Linked DNA regions of Homo sapiens: regions 1, 2, 3, 4, 5 and 7 are each linked to region 6. Evidence: promoter capture Hi-C in human tissues and cell types (Jung and others, 2019). All regions are on one chromosome and are shown on one strand. Each heading gives the region's core, a stretch centred on a gene start or on the middle of the fragment in contact. The rest is flanking DNA. Distances are from core to core; before and after follow the strand shown. Region 1 holds the start of C20orf173 (chromosome 20 open reading frame 173). Region 2 overlaps CPNE1 (copine 1). Region 3 overlaps CEP250 (centrosomal protein 250). Region 4 overlaps CPNE1 (copine 1). Region 5 has its middle 18 kb from the start of SPAG4. Region 6 holds the start of CNBD2 (cyclic nucleotide binding domain containing 2). Region 7 overlaps CEP250 (centrosomal protein 250).

The links. Contacts are between HindIII fragments. The study calls those that stand out against the background at their distance.
Region 1: the fragment with the promoter of C20orf173 here is called in contact with the fragment with the promoter of CNBD2 in region 6 in 5 of the 25 tissues and cell types used here (aorta, dorsolateral prefrontal cortex, small bowel and 2 more).
Region 2: a fragment that was not itself captured here is called in contact with the fragment with the promoter of CNBD2 in region 6 in 6 of the 25 tissues and cell types used here (dorsolateral prefrontal cortex, heart left ventricle, lymphoblastoid cells and 3 more).
Region 3: a contact is called between a fragment that was not itself captured here and the fragment with the promoter of CNBD2 in region 6, in 1 of the 25 tissues and cell types used here (spleen).
Region 4: a contact is called between a fragment that was not itself captured here and the fragment with the promoter of CNBD2 in region 6, in 2 of the 25 tissues and cell types used here (IMR-90 fibroblasts and lymphoblastoid cells).
Region 5: a fragment that was not itself captured here is called in contact with the fragment with the promoter of CNBD2 in region 6 in 2 of the 25 tissues and cell types used here (small bowel and spleen).
Region 7: a fragment that was not itself captured here is called in contact with the fragment with the promoter of CNBD2 in region 6 in 1 of the 25 tissues and cell types used here (lymphoblastoid cells).

The regions. Positions count from the first base shown.
Region 1 is chr20:35,528,205-35,530,904 of GRCh38, reverse strand. It overlaps C20orf173 (chromosome 20 open reading frame 173), which reads left to right and starts at 1,253. Exons shown (of 6, transcript NM_001145350.2): 1 at 1,253-1,346; 2 at 1,481-1,840; 3 at 2,026-2,204; 4 at 2,361-2,454; 5 at 2,621-2,672. The coding sequence starts at 1,532. The coding sequence ends at 2,647. The HindIII fragment of the contact is 31,043 bases long and covers 1-2,700 here.
Region 2 is chr20:35,643,708-35,646,467 of GRCh38, reverse strand. All of the region lies in intron 1 of CPNE1 (copine 1), which reads left to right. Among named protein-coding and RNA genes, the nearest start is that of CPNE1, 20 kb to the left of the region's middle. The HindIII fragment of the contact is 5,383 bases long and covers 1-2,760 here.
Region 3 is chr20:35,498,314-35,501,013 of GRCh38, reverse strand. CEP250 (centrosomal protein 250) reads right to left here. Exons shown (of 35, transcript NM_007186.6): 27 at 2,298-2,419; 28 at 845-965. Among named protein-coding and RNA genes, the nearest start is that of CEP250-AS1, 8.7 kb to the right of the region's middle. The HindIII fragment of the contact is 7,280 bases long and covers 1-2,700 here.
Region 4 is chr20:35,659,981-35,662,717 of GRCh38, reverse strand. The region is part of intron 1 of CPNE1 (copine 1); the gene reads left to right. The region is part of intron 1 of RBM12 (RNA binding motif protein 12); the gene reads left to right. Among named protein-coding and RNA genes, the nearest start is that of CPNE1, 3.6 kb to the left of the region's middle. The HindIII fragment of the contact is 4,098 bases long and covers 1-2,737 here.
Region 5 is chr20:35,596,384-35,599,148 of GRCh38, reverse strand. It overlaps the pseudogene FER1L4. Among named protein-coding and RNA genes, the nearest start is that of SPAG4, 18 kb to the left of the region's middle. The HindIII fragment of the contact is 5,332 bases long and covers 1-2,765 here.
Region 6 is chr20:35,967,204-35,969,903 of GRCh38, reverse strand. CNBD2 (cyclic nucleotide binding domain containing 2) reads right to left here and starts at 1,314. Exons shown (of 12, transcript NM_001365709.1): 1 at 1,091-1,314. The coding sequence starts at 1,141. It also overlaps the pseudogene LOC124904982. The HindIII fragment of the contact is 12,223 bases long and covers 1-2,700 here.
Region 7 is chr20:35,474,385-35,477,084 of GRCh38, reverse strand. It overlaps CEP250 (centrosomal protein 250), which reads right to left. Exons shown (of 35, transcript NM_007186.6): 15 at 1,439-1,583; 16 at 490-636. CEP250-AS1 (CEP250 antisense RNA 1) reads left to right here. Exons shown (of 3, transcript NR_184017.1): 3 at 410-2,700. Among named protein-coding and RNA genes, the nearest start is that of CEP250-AS1, 15 kb to the left of the region's middle. The HindIII fragment of the contact is 3,045 bases long and covers 1-2,700 here.

The sequences.
Region 1 (2,700 bases), core at 4-2,503, 440 kb after region 6:
CCTGTAATCCCAGCTATTCGGGAGGCAGAGGCAGGAGAATTGCTTGAACCCCGGAGGAGGCAGAAGTTGCAGTGAGCTGAGATTGCGCCACTGCACTCCAGCCTGGGTGACAGAGCAAGACTCTGTCTCAAACAAAACAAAAGAGACAGAGAAGTTTTGGGAAGGGTTGGTTTACAGGGAAAATCCTGGGTTCAGTCTCAGGCTTATTCAGGTGAGATGTCTCTGAGCCATCTAAGTGGCAATTCAGTAGGCTGTTGGATATGGGGTCTAGAGACTACAAGAGAGGATTGAGTTGATGTCACACAACTCCAGAGAGGGCATCACACACAAGTATATTTAAAGTTCCAGGCTGGGGCGGGGTGCAGTGGCTCATGCCTGTAATCCCAACACTTTGGGAGGCCAAGGCGGGCGGATCACCTGAGGTCAGAAGTTCGAGATCAGTCTGACCAACATGGGGAAACCCCGTCTCTACTAAAAATACAAAAAAATTAGCCAGGCGTGGTGGCGGGCACCTGTAATCCCAGCTACTTGGGAAACCGAGGCAAGAGAATCACTTAAACCCGGGAGGTAGAGGGTGCAGTGAGCCGAGATCGTGCCTCTGCACTCCAGCTGGGGCGACAAGAGTGAAACTCCGTCTCAAAATAATAATAATAATAATAATAATAATAATAATAATAATAATAATTTAAAAATAAAGTTCCCGGCTGGGCATGGTGGTTCACGCCTGTAATTCCAGCACTTTGGGAGGCTGAGGTGGGCGGATCACTTGAGGTCAGGAGTTTGAGACCAGCCTGGCCAATATGGCGAAACCCTGTCTCCACTAAAAATATAAAAATTAGCCAGGCGTGGTGGCGCATGCCTGTAGTCCCAGCTACTTGGGAGGCTGAGGCATGAGAATCGCTTGAACCAGGCAGGCGGAAGTTGCAGTGAGCCAAGATCATGCCACTGCACTCCAGCCTGGACAACAGAGCAAAAACTCCATCTCAAAAAAAAAAAAAAAAGTTCCCTCTCAACCCCTGTTTATTTATCCCATAAATATTTATTAAATGATTCTAAGTCTTAGAGCTGCAGAGGTGAAGAAGAGAGACTAGGTCAGCCCCTGTCCTCATGAATCTTACATCCAGTGGAGGTCATTTCGGTGTCAGAGAAAGGGTAGGGTGGTGGCTTTTTTCAGGCAGGCTAAAGGAGGGAGGTCACAATGTGTACTTTGTGATGAGATCTATGATATAACTGGGATGACAGCAAGGCCCCCACTGAGGTATTCCTTCCCCTCTCAGGACTAGCCACATGCTGTCTCTCTGCCCTGGCCTCTTCCACCCCATGCCCAGTCAGAGACCGTTTTGAGGGTGAGCAAATGGATAGTGAGGCAGGAGAGGAGGGGTTGGAAGGAGGTGGAAGGTGGTGGGATGGGGAGTTGTGGAGGCCGACAGGACAGAGGGAAGCTGGTGCTGTCTGTGGCCTCAGCCCCTCATCCTTACAGGTAGAGAAGCCAGTCTACGGCCCACCACGGGAGCCACCGCCTGGGCCAGACATGAAGCGCTGGCAGATTTTTGTCCTGTGGGTCTTTTGGGTGCTCATCCTCTGGCTGATGACCCCCTATCTGGATCTGACACCTGAATCAGCACCCCAGGAAAAACGAATGTACTTGGTACCACAGCATTGCGACTGCCCTTGGTTCAGTTCCGGGAAGTGTGGCTGCCCTTCTGAGACCCTCAACTGCTCCTCCTGCCACCACACAGCCGACGAATGGAACTGGCTTGATGCGTGCTCCAGGAAGACTATGGGGTACCTGATGAGGACAAGAGAGTCTATGACCTCTGACACTGTGCTCTGGTGGTTGGTCAGTGGTCAACACTGGGCCCGGCCATATCCCCCATGCTTTCCGGGCCTCACCCATCTCCCACTTTCCGCCCAAATCCCTGCCCTTGGCCCTGTCTTCACAGCCTCTGGATGGAGATCTCACCCACCCAGCTCTGTTTTCTCTCCCCTGGGCCCAGCCCCCAATCTCCCTCTTGCTGTTTCCAGGGCATGAACTCAGGGAGCGAGCTTGGGAAATTGTGGAGGAAGCTGTTTAAAGGGATTCCCAGGCTCTCGGTGAGCCATTTTGATTTCTATTGTGGGACTTGTGTGCTGTTGGGGCGCCCACAGATCCCGCAGGGCTCCAGCCTTGGCAACGACATCGACCAATACCCCGTGGTTTTCAGGTGGGTGCTGGGGAGAGGGCGGGAGCAGGAAGGCCAGGCCTGCCCCACAGTTCCATCAGTTTCTGCTCCCCTTCCCAAGATGAAGCAGGCCCCAAGTCCAGGGCTTTGAGATGGACGTGGGGAACCAAACCACACACAATGCTTCATCTATCCCAGGAATGCCAGCGACCAGGGCTCCTGGATGCAGCTGGAGATGCTACTGCGGAAGCTCTCTGACCTGGTGTGGACTTCAGATGCTCTAAGTGATAAGGTGATGGAGGTGTCCCCAGACATTCTCTGTGTGGGGGTGAGGGGAGGTCACTGCAGGGAGTAACAGCAGGGGCTCTGGGAAGACCTTCTATTGGCTTACTGGGGACACTTGCAGGACTTTCCCAGGTCTTGTGGCCCAAACTCCCCCACCTCCAATTCTTTCTCAGATTTTGGAAGATGGTCTGGTTCCCTAGTGGAGTGGAAGATAGCAAAGACACGGTGAGGGGGAATAGGAAAAGGGGTAGGA
Region 2 (2,760 bases), core at 138-2,637, 320 kb after region 6:
GAGGATCGCTTGAGCCCAGGAATTGAGACTAGCGTGAGTAACATAGCAAGACCCTGTCTCAAAAAAAAAAAAAAAAAGCCTTGTCACTTAGAGTTTGTGCTTCATATCAAATGATAACAACCACATTGTGCTACACCACAAGTCACACAGTGGGAAGGATTTAAGAGGGTTAAATAGTTTTTTTGTTTCTTTTTTTTTTTTTTTTTTTTTTTTTTGAGATGGTCTTGCTCTGCTGCCCAGGCTGGAGTGCAGTGGTACAGTCAGCTCACTGTAACCTCGATGTCCTGGGCTCAAGCAATCCTGCTTCAGCCTCCTAAGTAGCTATTTTTTTTTTTTTTTAATTTTTTTGTAGAGATGAGGTAATTGCTGGGGTAGGGGTGATGGTGGAGTGGAGGGGTAGTTTCACTATGTGGCTCAGGCCGGTCTTGAACTCCGGGGCTCAAGTGATGCTCCCGCCTTGGCCTCTCAAAGTGCTGGGATTACAGGTGTGAGCCACTATGCCTGGCCTCAGTTTCTTAAAAGGTTTTAAATCACACCAACTGGTACCAGTGCCTCTGATTGCCTTGATTTTTCTGTGATCCCACTTGGAAGTTTGTTAATGCCACACTCCACTATACTCCACACATTAGATTGCAGTGGGGGCTGGAGAGTGGCCCAGCCTTTATACATAACTCCCTTCTGTGGTTTGGCCTGTGGGACCAGTAGGGTCCCTGTGCTGTAACTCTGACTGAAGTGATGGACATTAATGCAACTACTAATTACTGATGTAGATGAGCTGCTTTACTTCTATGACCATTGAATTGACAGATTGGAATTGGAAGCACCTGTCACCTTCAAGCTTTTAAGACAACTTCACATGAATGTACAGCTTAGCCATAGCTGTATCTCATACTAACAGATTTTTGCAGTGGTGTGCACCCAGCACTTATACTTTGGTGGAAAAGCAAAATAAGGTTCCTGTTCTTCAACAGTTGAGGGTTTTAAGTCACAACTAAGTGCTTGGTTGTGCTTATACTAGGTACATTCCTATACCACGGGAACCAGGTAGTGGCTTTCCTGGCCATTTGCTAAGTTATGGTTAGACAGGAACAAGTGTAAACTAGTCTTTGTCATAGTGTAGTTTCCTGTTGTTGAAATATTCCTTTGCTTTCTCGGCTTCCCTAACATGTAAATTCTGAAGACCCATCTTAAACTCTCCCCAGTGTCCCAAATGAATTTATTCCAGTGAAGGGTAAGGGGCTTGCATTATGAACAATAGGTAGGTTTCTTTTCCAAGAGCTCTGGTCTGCTTTTGTTCATTTACTCATCTCATTTTGTGCTGTAGGAGATATACACTCCTTTTGTGCACACTGTAGATGCACAGGTATTTGGTGATGCCTCAGTCCTGGAGATCATCAGGAAGGCGGTATAGTACTGTTGTCTCAGACACCCCACAGGTGATAGACATTAAAAGAATGTAGATTTCAGCCGGGAGGGATGGGGGCAGAATTGACTACCCTATAGATGTCCTTTGAAAATTTTGATACAGATCACATTTTTTAGAGGTGAGTTCTACCTTATTTGCACTATGCATGCTTGCTACTTAAAATTTATTCCTTTGATCAACTCCTGTAAATGTGGAGTCCAGGATTTCCTACCTTCCTTCCCCAGCAGTCAGACAAATAGGGAGAATTATATTCCATGTTTGTGCAAGGCTAACATTAGCATAGATCATGAGGGGAGACCATGTGAGTCTCACTGCTGTTGTAGTGGCAGGGTAGATTTCAGATTGGGGTGAATTACAAAATGTGAACTGTTGCTAAAATGGTTGGATATAGAAATAACATTCTCAGAATCGGTTCGTGGTTCCATCAGTTATGTGACTTAGGACAGATTATTTCCCTCTGGCCTCAGTGTTTCTTTTACAGTATGGGATTAAATTAGATAAGCTTGTGTCCAGTTTTAAGCTTCTGTGATTGTATGAACCTAGCCATTCGGTTTCTGGAAATCTGTACTGAGTTTGGACCTTAAACTAAAGTGACCAGGAATGGAGCTCCAAATTTTGATCTGGGTACTGCTCTCCTGGTTTCCCTAGTGTGGTAGTGATTCTACACTGCAGCTTGAGAAATTCAAAGGGGAAGAGTCTTCATCTCTCCTTTTGGGGGCTGTCCCTGTCCTGCTAGTTATATCCTGGAGCAGGTAGACCAGAGGCATTCCTCCTGGATCCACTCCTCCTTGGTCCAATTAACCAAGAAGGAGTTAATGATACTGCAGAAGGACCCAAAGGTGCACTTCCCTGTTTGTGAGCACCTACAGGGACAGTTGACACTGGGTACTTACTCTGTGCCGGGCAGGGGATACTTTCTATGACTGTCCTCATGTAATCCTCACAAATAACACTGTAAAGTTAACATTATCATCCCTACTTTACAGGTGGGGTAATCCAGGCAGAGAAAAATAATTAATAGTAAGGGGAAAACAAAGATGTTTTAATCATGGATGCTTGTATGACTCCTCAGGTAGAAACCCTCCCTCAACTATCCCCAGCCCCTCCCTGACTTTTAGGGAAAGTGGGAGGCCACTGGCAGCAGTCTTCTGTCATGGATTCTGAGCTGCTGGGGAAGGAGCCTTTTCAGTTTGCCAACTCCAACTATAGTGTGGAGGGCCCTTACCTATTGGTAGGGCTTCTTGGCCTCCACGGTCAAGCTTATGATTGCAGAGGGGGACCTGAACTTACTTTGTTGTTTTTTTGTTTTCGCAACAGAGTCTCACTCTGTTGCT
Region 3 (2,700 bases), core at 92-2,591, 470 kb after region 6:
TGGAGGACACAGTTGAAGATGATAAAAATAAGTAACATGGATGACAAAAGATGCAGTTTTATAATGTTCTTACAGTCCTGGCCCTGGGTCTCCAATTTTTTTAATTTTTAAATCTACAGAGACAGAAAATGGAAGCCCAGCCATTTCCTTCTTTCAGTTCATCAAATCTGTTCCTCCTAATCTCTTCTTCCAGGATGGGCCTCAAAGGCCAAGCAAAGCTGAAAAAATAGTTCAAGGTGGTCAGCACCCCTTTGGAAGTGCATCTAGATCTCACCTCACATTTCTGGGTAAATAATGCAGTGCAGCTGGGCGCAGTGGCTCACGCCTGTAATCCTAGCACTTTGGGAGGTCGAGGCAGGCGGATCACTTGAGGCCAGGAGTTCAAGCACTCCCTGCTGCTGCCAGCCCCAGCGCTGCCTGGTAATCATCCCAATATGTCCTCATCCTCATCACAGAGAGCCTTGGCCCTCAATTCCAGACAGGGTTGAGCCAGATGACACTGGAGGTCCCTTCTAGCCCCCAATCCTATAATTGTGCAGGAGCTCCTAGAGACCCCGGTGGCTCCGCTGGTTGGTGAACATGGTGAAACCCCGTCTTTATTAAAAATCCAAAAAAATTAGCCAGGCGTGGTGGCGCATGCCTATAATCCTAGCTGCTCGGAAGACATAGGTTGCAGCGAGCCGAAGTCGTGACATTGTACTCAAACCTGAGTGACAGAGTGAGATGTCGTCTCAAAAATAAAATAAAATAAACAGAGTGGCTGCTAGGCCTGTGCCTGCCACTTCTGGGCTCCCCACCTATCCCTTCTCCCTCTCAATCTCCCTGCCTGTCTTGAGCTTCTCACCTTCCTGATTCTGGGAGAGCTGTCTCTGCAGATCCTGCAACTCTGTGTGGACCTGGCTCTTCTCAGCCTCAGTATCAGTTAGACGCTCTTCCAGTTTCTGGACCTGATCCCTCAGAACATCCTGGGAAAGGAAGGGCATGGCTAAACGTGAGTTCCTCATCTTCCACAAAACAATGCAGGGCTCAAGCTCTCTCCTCATTCTCAGCTTCTGTGGTGGGCCGCCATTGTGGACCTACTCCCAGATTGCCGGGTTACTTCCTTTAAACACATGTGTATTTAGCTTCCTGAAGTGATGACAGGCTCTGCTCCACTTGGATGGAGTGTGAGAATCCATCCCCTTCTGACCTATCTATGTCTTTTGAAACAGAGCTCCTGCTCAAAGTTAGCCCAGGGGTCACCACTTCCCTCTCAACACTCCTACTTCAAAGCTCAGCCCAAAGGTCATCTCTTCTTTCCTTCTGACCCTTCCCAAATCAGGATGAATTGCCCCCTCCTCCTAGTTCCAACAGTGCATCACTTGCGTCTGTTATTGATCCAATTAATTCTCTCAGTTCTGCTTTCCAGTAGAATGCAGTTTGGTTCCTCCACCATGTCACAAGCCTTCTTTAGGCAGAGACCAGGTCTTTCTCCTTTTTGTATACCCAGCCCAGAGTGGCTGACATATGGATGACACTCAATTTGTATTGACTGATAGGTTCACTGTGAGGTGGAATTTATGAGCTCTTTCAGACCTAGGCCTAGAACATGCCTATAAATGCCAACCTCAAATCTCAGTGGTCACTGATTTCTAGGGTTTCTCTTGGAAGCCTGGGTACCAAGAATTAATTCATAGCTGAGTGGAAGATGATGGAAAACAATGCCATACATCTGCCCAGGGTTTTTTTGTGTTTGTTTGAGATGGAGTTTCACTTTTGTCGTTCAACCTGGAGTGCAATGGCACAATCTTGGCTCACTGCAACCTCCACCTCCCAGGTTCAAGTGATTCTCCTGCCTCAGCCTCCTGAGTAGCTGGGATTACAGGTGCCCACCGCCACCTCTGGCTAATTTTTGTATTTTTAGTAGAGATGGGGTTTCACCATGTTGGCCAGGCTGATTTTGAACTCCTGACCTCAGGTGATCCACCTGTCTCAGCCTCCCAAAGCACTGGGATTACAGGCATGAGCCACCGTGCCTGGCCTACCCAGGGTTTTTTGGTTTACAGGGCTCATTCAAGATCCTCTCTCATCTAATCCTCAAAACCCTGAGCAGGCACTATCTGCCCTACTCTGCAAGGGAAAACAAGGCCCAGGAACTTCAAATGCTTCATTTGTGGTTGCCAGGTGGTAAGTGATAGAGGTGAAACTCATCCCAACTTGATCTCAGGAATAAAACAGGTCAAACTGCTTCACACCCCTTTGCCTCATGCTTTTCCAGGGATGTAAAGAGTTCGGGAAAGGGGAGCAGAGAAACATACCCGGGTCTGTTGAGTCTTCCACAGGTCTTGATGAAGCTTGTGGAGGGCAGATGCTACTGCCTCAGCGGAGAGAGCAGTCAGCAGGGGCCCTCTCTTAAAGAGGCTCCTAGCTCCATTCTGGTCTGAAAAAATGAGGAAAACCTCCTTACCTGGCTGCCACTATGAAAAGAAACAGCCAGACCTCTCCAGACACAGCCCTGTCCTTCCAACTGGTCCCTCCTCTCCGCAAAGAACCCCTTTCTCAGCAGTTCACTCATCACATATTTTCTCCATAAGTATGGGCCAGGCACTATGGTGGGTGCTAGATTAATGCGAGCTATCACTTATTACGCACTTAATAAGTGCCAGGAACCGTGTAAGTGATTCACATCTGCAACCTCATAACTCCTTGGTGAAATTATAA
Region 4 (2,737 bases), core at 134-2,633, 310 kb after region 6:
TCCAGGTGCTGGAATCCAGTGACAGTGTTGATAGTTTTTACTCCATTTTGCAGAGAGCCATTCTGTCATTGTATGAATGTATGTTTTCTTCTGTAGATGTTGTAGGAAGAACCAAGTGTCAGTAGTTGGTTGCACAAAAGATGCTTTTAGATGTCCCTCCCTAAAATGCAGAGACTGATGATGTCCACTTTTATATCTTTTGTCTGGCCCACAAGTGCTTAATAGTAAATGTTCATGGAGTAAAGGAATATTGTTAAATGTTTTCAACTAAACAGAAAAGATAATTTTATCTAAACTACAGTTTTATCAGATTTTACTACCACACCCATATACCTTTTGGTTTGCACAAAATTTAATTAAGTTTAAAGCCAGCTTTTAAGACTCAAAAACAGAGTGAATGTGGTTGTTTAGGTTAGAAGTATAATTTTGCTCTGAAGTGAAAATGAAGGTAGCAACATTTTTGTTGGCATTTGGGGGGATTGAAACATAACTTAATATTTTTGACAGGAGGAATATCTTATTTAGAAATGTCTTCTGATTTGCTGCCTTTGAGTACGGAATGGAGGTTAATGGAAAAATTGAGTAATGCGTTATAAAAAGTACACATCTCCATCAGTGTCAGAATAATTTTTTCATTAAGAGTGATCCCAGACTTTGATATATGGTCCATTTGGGAATGGGGAACAAAATCAAGTGGCTGAAACTGTGGTTGTTTCATAATGTTTATTATAATGTGATTATACTGTTTTTAGCATTGTGCCCGTTGTGATTGGTTCTCTGTTGCTAATCTCTGAGGTGAACATTTGAGAGTTTGTTTCTTTTGGATCTGAAGAACCTAGCTCTGCTGTACCCTGGTTCTTGTTGATTAAAGAGTGATAACTGAACAAAGTTAAAGTTCACTTTTGGATGTTTACTACCAGATGAAGAGTGAAAATAGTCGTTTTAGTTTGTGCCTTGACTTCTTGATGAAGAGATTTGTTGTCAGACATTTTTTTCTGAAATTCCAAGTGATTAGAATGGCTAGTAAATACGAAAGTCTGTCTTGCCATAATATGTTAAATTTTTGTAGCAGATACTTGTGATTTGTGCATGCATCCGGTATTTTGTCAAGTTGAAGCAAGCCTTTATGTTAGGACTAATTCCTGATAATATGAATGGAAAACATACTAAAGCCAGCTTCTTGTTTTAGATCTTCTGAAGTATATCAGTGGCTTTAATGACAAATCAGGCCCATTTTCTCCTTTCCTATCATTATGCTGTATGTATAGATAGAATATGTATTTTAGATGTTTTATTGTTTAGTTATTATTTTAGTCTTATCCTTCTAAAGTTCAGCAAAGCTTTAGGTAAATGGCGTGGATTTTTGAAATCCTGCATTCAGTCGCTAGCTGACATTTAGAATACAGGAATAGTAGTTTCCTGGAAAACAGTGACACTTATGTTAAATTCTTGTGGTTTTTACAAAGTGAGGTGTCAACACAGAAGTATTTCAGTTCTATTTCCATTTACCTTTCCCTTTTGAAGAGGTATAATACCAAGGGTTGTGAAGTTCTGACTTGTAGCATCAACTTTCTGCATGGTTTTCCTTGGTATGGGGTGGGGTGGGTATTCCTCTTTGCTGAAATAGAAGAGAATCATAAATTTCTATCTGGATTGATTTTGTGCTTTAAGTTGTACACATAAAACTTGAACTAGGCATTTGTCAAATTCAGCTGGGCCTTTCAGCCTTGCCTTGTGGAATGAGAAATATCTTCCTTTTAAAGGTAATTTCTGGTAACCTTTTAGAAATTTTTGAGAGTAGACCTGGTGAGTTCCCTTTGAGCTTAACTGGCTGACCCCAGATATGTCCTTCTCAAGATAGACATACGGTATCTTTTGAGTTTGCAAGGGAAGAGGCTGAGAGGAACCTTCTTACCTTATATTCAGGCATATGCCCTGGCCCCATACCTGACCTTTTGAATTGGAATCTCCAGTAGGGATCAGATGTTTATTACAAGTTCTAGAAACTAGAAAGTTACCCTGTTATGTGGCTGCTGGAGTCAAACCTGTACATAAATATTACAGTACTTCATGCTCTTGCTCATTGCTTTACTTGAAGCAGGTTTTTTTCTGTTTCACATTTTCCTTTGTGACCTGTTAAACTACTAGATATGGCTTTCAAATGAAGAATTTTTAAACTCCTTAGACTTAGTTAGGCTAGGCCAGGCGTGGTGGCTCACACCTGTAATCTCAGCACTTTGGGAGGCTGAGGCGGGTGGATCACTTGAGGTGAGGAGTTAAGAGACCAGCCTGGGTAACATAATGAAACCCCTGTCTCTACTAAAAATACAAAAATAAGCTGCGGGTGGTGGCGCAAGCCTGTAGTCAGTCCCAGCTACTCCAGAGGCTGAGGCATGAGAATAGCTTGAACCCAGGGAGGCGGAGGTTGCAATGAGCCTAATGAGCCTAGATCGCGCCACTGCACTCTAGCCTGGGCGACAGAGCGATACCCTGTCTCAAAAAAAGAAAAAAAAAAGAGGCTAGATTTCTACAACATGTAAAAGATTAATACAATGCTCTAGACTTTTGATTGTGTTGATTACATATTTGCATAGCTTTTTGTGGTAAAACCATCTCACTATTCTTTAGCAACTTGAGTAGTTGACTAGACGATGAATAGTTTGTCCTTTAGAAAATCACACAGATTTTTGAAATATGTTTTACTTTTTGGCGATGAATATTAAGGTCATTAGTTGTA
Region 5 (2,765 bases), core at 219-2,718, 370 kb after region 6:
CCTCAAGACTCTGACCCTCTCCCACGTTGCACAGGACCAGGGGCTGCAGGAGGTTGAGAGACTGCAGCGCAAGCCGGGGCCTGGCGCCTGTGCACAGCTCAAGCAGGCACTGGAAGTACTGGTGGCTGGGAGCAGGTGAGCTGAGAGCCACTCCTACTGCTGCCTGTACTTGGGCCAACTCCAGGGCAAGGGAGACTCTCGGTGGCTGTCTGGACCCAAGGGCAGCTTGCAGCTGCATTTGCTCAGCACCTTACAGAAAAATGAGAAGACAATTATTCCTATCCAGGGAGCTGATGAGATTATTGGGGGTTAGGCTTCCCCTGATTCTCTGGCACCTCAGCTGTTTTCCATCTCCATGAGTTCCCTTTCCCACGCTCCTAGAGGCTTATCCCGTGTCTCTTCAAACCTCGCCTCCTTTCTTTCACACTTGTTCCTGCTAATCACCTTCCCACACCCAGTCTACCTCCTTGCCGGCTTCTGCATCCATCTGCTCTCCTCCTTTCCTGCTCCAGTGACCACAGCTGTGATCTGGATTTCATCACTGGAGGAATTAGTTCTGTAATTGTCAATTTTCTCCCCTTCATCATTGATTGGTCCCTAGTTACCAGGTCATTGCTGTAACCACATAAACATGTTCGGCCAGGTGCGGTGGCTCACACCCGTAATCCCAGCACTTTTGGAGTCTGAGGCGGGCAGATCATTTGAGGTCAGGAGTTCAAGACCAGACTGGCCAACATGGCGAAACCCAGTCTCTACCAAAAAAATACAAAAATTAGCCGGGCATAATGGTGGGTACCTCCCAGCTACTTGGGAGGCTGAGGCAGGAGAGTCACTTGAACCTGGCAGGTGGAGGTTGCAGTGAGCCAAGATTGCGCCACTGCACTCCAGCCTGGGTGACTGAGCAAGACTACGTCTCAAAAACAAACAAACAAGAAAACAAAAAAAAAACATGTTCTAGTTACTTCCATCTTTGACCTTCACTACTGCCCTGAATTCCATTACCTGCTCCAGGTACTTAAGTGATTTTCAGATCCTCTTCTCAAAAGGGTTCTTTATTTGATAACTATTTATGGCACTTACTATGCCAGACACTGTTTTAGGCACAGGAATATCAGTGAAAAAGCATTCCTGCCCACAAAAATCCCTGAAGTTGGCCAGGCACAATGGCTGATGCCTGTAGTCCCAGCTACTTGTGGGAGGCTGAAGTGGGAAGATCTTGAGCCCAGGAGTTCAAGGCTGCAGTGAACCATGATTGCGCCACTGCACTCCAGTCTGGGTGACAGAATGGGACCCTGACTTTAAAAAAAAACCCTGAAGCTTACATTTGGGTGTAGAGGTTGGGGAAGGGTGGAGACATGTGAAATAAGCATGTAAACAGATAGAAAAATACTAAGTAGGATAAGTGTTAAGAAAGAACGCGAAGCAAGGAAGCATTAGAAAGAGGTACTGCAATTTCAGAAAGGGTGTGGAGGGGAGGCCACCGTGAAGGTGACATGAAGCTGGAGGAGAAAGCCTGCCTGTAATGGTGTTCCAGGTGGAGGGGACAGCATGCCTGGAGTGTTTGAGGAGGAGCACAGAACCAGTGTGACTGCAGCAGTGTGACATAGTAGAAGAGGCTGGAGGAGGCCAGGGGAAGGAGGATGATGGTGGGGAGGGACAGATCCTGTGGGAGCCTCACAAGCCATTTTAATGACTTTGGCTTCTTCTCTGAGTGAAATGGGGGGGGAGGGGCAGTGAATGTTTTGAAAAGGAAAAAGATACACTCTAACACATAGATCCTTAAAAGGGATCAGTGGGGGAGGAAGCAGGGAGATTAGTAAAGGGGCTATTGTGATAATCCACGTGACAGGTGGCGATGAACTGATCTAGGGGATGGTTGCAGTGGAGATGGAGTGCTGTGAATGGATTCCAGAGAAAATTTGGAATTGGGGGTGATACCTCAGGACTTGCTAAGATTTTGGCTTGTGGGCTGGGCATGGTGGCTCACACCTGGAATCCCAGCACTTTGGGAGGCCAAGGTGGGAGGATCAATTGAGCCCAGGGGTTTGAAACCAACCTGAACAATATAGGAAGACCTTGTCTCTATGAAAAATACAAAAGTTAGCTGGGTGTGGTGGTGCACACCTGTAGTCCCAGCTACTCAGGAGGCTGAGATGGGAGGATGGCTTGAGTCCAGGAGTTTAAGGCTGCACCAACTGCATAGTTATGCAAGCCAAAATCTTCTTTTTTTGGAAAAAAGAAAAAAATCTGTTTTCAACAGAAAACAAAGGAGAAGGTCTGATGGAAGCAGGGATGAGGTGGGATCTGAGGGAAGGCAGATAGTAGGAGCTCAGTTTTGGACATGTTAACTGTGAAATTCTTATTGAATTGTAAGTGGACATGTGTGGTAGGCAGTTAGCTATATGAGTTGAGTTCTGGGGAGAATTCTAGGCTGGAAATGTCAATTTGGGAACTATCATTATGTAGATGGAGCTGGATAACAGCATTAACAGAGCACAGAAAAGAGAAATCTGAGAACCTGGAGCGTTCCAGCATTTAGAGGCAGGGAGGAAGCAGGGACTCAGCCAAGGACCCTGATCAGGAGAGGCAGTGAGGTAGGAGGCTGTAGGTGGTCACTTTTCTGTTCTCACCATGCTCAACCTTTCAGCGTCAGTAGACACAGTTGTTTCACCATTTTGGCCAGGCTGGTCTCGAACTCCTGACCTCAAGTGATTCACCGCCTCGGCCTCCCAAAGTGCGGGGATTACAGGCCTGAGCCACCACAC
Region 6 (2,700 bases), core at 65-2,564:
TACAACCATGTTGAAGAGCAATTTGGCAACATTATATAAAGTTGAGGATGTGTGTACTTCACAATGGAAGAATTGTATGTACTTTATATGTCCTCTTCAGAGAAACATACATGTACAAGGGGATAGCCATGAGGGTAATCATGGCAACATTGTGTGTAACAGTGAATGGCTGAAAACAAATGTTCATTAGTAGGGATCGAAGGGATCAATACATTATGGTTCAGTCACAGGATTGAACACAGCACTAAGTCTGTGTGTGTCAATGTGGATAAAGCTGAAATGATTTTGAGTGGGAAAAAAGAACTATGATGCTATTTATGGTATCATTTTTAAACAGTGTGCCACATACTATATATTGTTTATGGATACATACACATGTGATAATATATAAAAATATAAACAGGAAGGGTGACACCAACTTCAGGAAAGTGGTTACTATTAAAGAGAAATAAAGGGGCATGGGATGGTAAAGAGCTTTCCCTACACCTGTAATGTTCTATTTCTTAAAAATTAGATATCTATGGAAATATGGGGAAAGGTACTTTATGAATAAAATTAATACTTACTGAGTACAATTTACTATTGTCAGGCATTATCCAAAGCACTATTCTGATATGTAAATCATTTAATCAGTAAATTTATGCAGTAGGTACTAGTATTATCATCTCACTTTACAGAGGAGAAAATAAAGGCACAGCAAACCAAGCAACTTGCCTGGGGTCACATGACTAATAGGTGATAGGGATTTAAACCTAGGTAGTCTGGCTCCAGAGTTCACAAGCTTAACCTATGACTCAATGTTGCTACCCTGACTCTATCCTCCCTCGTTCTCTCTGGATCTCATAATAGCAGGAAGAGTGGGTACAGAACAGGACTCAGTGGCTCTGAGTGTGGCTTATGGCTTGCCCAGTGTGGGGGGCTGGTAGGCTACAGGGCAGGGGTCCCTCCTTTGTGCCATGCTGTGACTCCAAAAGGTACAGGATGGCCACCATTCATCCAAGACCCCTCCTACACCTGCATCGACCTTCCTCAAAACACCTGTCTGTTCAGTCTTCTGCTCTTCCCTCCCAGGGCCCTTGCCCCTCCTCACCAGTTCCTTCTTCAGGAGCTGCCAGGCATAAGTTACCATATGTCTCCTCATGGTTCCTGTGCAGGCAAATGGCACAACTAGCCCCTTTGCCTTTCAAGGGGAGGACTACAAATTTTTCCCCAAAAATCCAGTAATACTAGAAACAAATAGATTTCCTCAGTAACAAGGCAAGAGCTCCACTCCACTCCTCCTACCATACCATCAGCTACTGGAAGCCCTGCTCTGAGAAAAATCATTCTCAGAATCTCCTAAGGTCACAATGAAAGATTCTGGAGGCAGGGGACACAGGGATTGGAATGTGGGAGTCTAACATTTATGGGATACTCACAGGCATTATCTCAGCTAATCCTCACAACCACCCAAACTTTTACTCAACTCCATACATAGGAGACTGGGGCTCAAAGTAGCTAAATGGCTGCCAGAGTCCTGGTGAGACAGGAGAATGGCACAACCCTGCTGACCAAAACAGGATCTAGGACCCCCTAGCTGTCCCCATCCCTCATTAACATAAGACACTCCTACCAGTGCCATGACAGTGTACAAATGTCTTGGCAATGACCAGGAAGTTGCTACCTCTTTCCTAGAAAACTCTAAAAACCCACTCCTTAATTTGCATTAACCTGCCCCTTAATTTGCATTAGCCTGCCCCTTAATTTGCATGTGATTGAAAGTGGGTAGGAATGCGTATACTACACTTGATCTCAGCCAAAAGGCTGAGAAGGGATTAGAGATGAGCATAAATACAGTTGCCAACATCTCATACACTGGGTATCGACTCCGGATTCATTGCCCATGAGTTAGCCCTGCCCCACAAGGAGAAGCACTATTCAATAAAAGATTGCTGTCTAACACCACTGGCTCACCCTTGAATTCCTTCCTTGGGCAAAGCCAAGAACTCTCCTAAGCTAAGTCTCAATTTGGGGGCTCACCTGTCCTGCAAAGATAGGGCTTTTTTGTTTTTTGAGACACTGTCTCACTTTGTTCCCAGGATGGAGTGCAGTGGCCCAATCTCAGCTCACTGCAACCTCTGCCTCCCAAATTCAAGTGATTCTCCTGCCTCAGCCGCCCAAGTAGCTAGGATTACAGGCGTGTGCCACCATGCCCGGCTGATTTTTGTATTTTTAGTAAAGACAGGCTTTCACCACGTTGCCCAGGCTGGTCTCAAGCTCCTGACCTCAAGTGATCCACCCACCTCAGCCTCCCAAAGTGCCGGGATTACAGGCATAAACCACCACTCCTGGCCAGGGCCTTTTTTTTTTTTTTTTTTTTAAGAAAGCAGTGTAGCTAAATGTCAGGTACACTTGCTCTCCATTTGTAGCATCCAATTAACAGAAGCAAGGTCTGGTCCAGCCTGGCCAATGTGGTGAAACCCCATCCCTACTAAAAATACAAAAAAATTAGCCGGGTGAGGTGGTGGGCACCTATAATCCCAGCTACTCGGGAGGCTGAGGTGGGAGGATCACTTGAACCCGGGAGGCAGAGGTTGCAGTCAGCCAAGATTGTGCCACTGCACTCCAGCCTGAACGACAGAGCAAGACTCTGTCTCAAAAAAAAAAAAAAAAAAAAAAAAAAAAGCGGGAGGGGGAATTGGCATAAATGGCATGCAGAGG
Region 7 (2,700 bases), core at 95-2,594, 490 kb after region 6:
GAGCCAAGATCGTGCCACTGTACTCCAGCCTGGGCAACAAGAGCAAAACTCCATCTCAAAAAAAAAAAATTAGCCAGGTGTGGTGACACATGCCTGTAATCCCAGCTACTCAGGAGGCTGAGGCAGGAGAATTGCTTGAACCCAGGAGATGAAAACTGCAGTTAGCTAAGATCGCACCACTGCACTCCAGCCTAGGTGACAGAGGGAGATCCATCTCAAGAAAACCCCAGCAAAAAACCTAGTCTTCCTTCCAGAGGACATGGGCCCCTTCCCAACCTTGGTGTCTTACCCTGAAGTCCAGAGGTGGTTCTGCTGGAGGTGTGGGAGGGGAATATTTATAATGGCTAAGCCCAATCCTTACAGTCTTTGCTCTCCTCTGCATTGTAAATGTTCCTTTTGCTCATTTCAGACCTACATTTGGGAGCTGATCCGTCTTGCTCTCAGTTAGGGCCCAGCCCTTCTGTGGGGACCAGGAAAATCTTTGCTCACCTGGAGAAGCTGCTGGTTCAGCCCAACTTTATCTAACGCCAAAGCCTCATTTAAGGCACTGAGCTTGACAGCTGCAGCCCGAAGATCAGCTACTTCTGTCTTCAGGGTGTTTTCAGAACTCGACAGCTCTGCAATTGACTGCTCTGCCTAAAAAACAAAAAGGATTAAAGAGTTTCATATTTCCAATTTTCCTGGAACAGTAAACAGTTCACATTCCCAACACTGCTGCTTTTTGGTACAGAGATCAGTTAATACTCCATTCCCTCTCCTGCATTCTAAACAAGTTTTCCCTTCATTCATTCATTAAGGAGTGAGACAGGACCTCACAGTATAGAGATACCAAAGTTAGGATAGAGAAATGACTATGATTGTAATGATGCCACAGAAAATGTAAGCACAAAGTGCTCTGGGAACTAAAAAAAATATTAATATAGTTTGGAAGAGTCAAATATGCTTGGTAGAGGAGTTGACGATTAAGTTGTGTACTGAGAGATGAGGAACAGTTTGCACATAAAGGAAGAGGAAAGAAGTAGTGCAGAGAAAGGGAAAAGTACACGCAGAGTATTAGAGTCATGAAGAACATGGAATAACTGAGAAGGCAATTACTGCTGTGGCAGGAGCAAAGGATATGAGGTGTTAGGATGGGTTTTGCAGTAGAAGGGGAGGCTAAAACACACTTTGAGGCACATGACAAAAAGCTTTGAATGTGGCACCACAGAGCTAGAAAGCCGTTGAATGGTTTTAAGAGACTGACATAACCAGGTATATACTTTAGAAAGCCCATTCTAATTCCAATATAGAGGGTATGTTGGAATAGAGAACCCAGAAGCAGACTAATGATTGAGGAAAGATGAGGGATCCTGGCTTGAAGGTGAAGAATGAGGCAGGCTGCATGGGAACACACTTTCGAAGCCGCCCACCCAGCAAGTGAGGAGAGGAGGCCACGCACCCTAGCCAGCGCTGCGGTCACTTCCGTTTGCTCTTGCCTCAGTAACTCCCCTTCCAGGTGACTTGACTCCAGGGCTTCCCGAAGAGTGATCAGTTCACTGAGTGATTCTGACTGTTTGGCTTCCAGGCCCATCAGCATCTCCTGACTAAGATGGGAAAGAGAGGGGTCTAGAGGAACTCTTAGGGATGGGCCATAACCCCAAAGGTAACAGGAATATAATCACCTTTGCTATGCAACAGAATGAGGATGGTCTATAAACACTGATAAGGAAAGATTTCTAAGACATGTCAAGTGAAAAAAATCAAGGTGCAGAACAGTATATACATGATACACTACCTTTTATGCAAGAAAGTGGGGGAAGAAAGAATATATGCCCGTATTTGCATGAAGGAGCACTGGCAAGATAAACAAGAAGTCAGCTAAAATGGTTGCCTAAAGGGGGAAGGGAAATGGGATGGAGAAAGCACAAATGAGAGTGAGACTTCTCTGTGTATCTTCTTAGCTCACTGAAGCCTCAAACTCCTGGGGGCTCATGTGATCCTCCCATCTCACCTTGCCATGGCTACAGGCACATGCCACCACATTCAGCTACAGCTAATTTTTTGTTGTTAGGGGTTGTCTGCCCTTCTCCTTGGTACAGGGAGATCATTCTTAGCACAAGTCATGACCCTTATGGCAGCCCTTCAAGCTTCCACTATTCATGCCTACCAGGTACAAGGAACTGGGGCACAGGAGAGGAGGGAAATACAGCAAAGATGAAGATATATCCCTGCTCCCAGTTATTAAAGACCTACCATATGCCAGGTTCTATGCTGGCGTTTTCCAAAACATTGCTCTCATCTTCCCAGCAACCCTTCAAGGTAAATATTATCATCATTCTACAAATAATCTGTCCATGTGACAGAGCCATAATTTAAACTAAGCTTCTGCCTAGCTCAAAGTCCTTGCTTTTTCTGTGACATCATATAGGGGAATTTACAGATTAGCTGGGGCCATTGATTCTGGATTTCCCTTTCTTGACCAGCTAGCACATTTCCCACTACTTCCCTGTATAAGTCTTACCCTTTAGCCAGCCCAGCCTACTCTGAACATGCCATGAACCTTCCTGCCGCCTTTTCTTTGCTAATCTGTTCCTTGAGCTCTTCTCCCACTCTCTGCTAACCAAATAGGTAAAGGCCCAGCTCAAAGTCTACTCTCTCCTCCATAAAGCATTTCCTAGTCTTCAATAATTAGCTGTCACTCCTGTGCTCCCAAAGGACTTG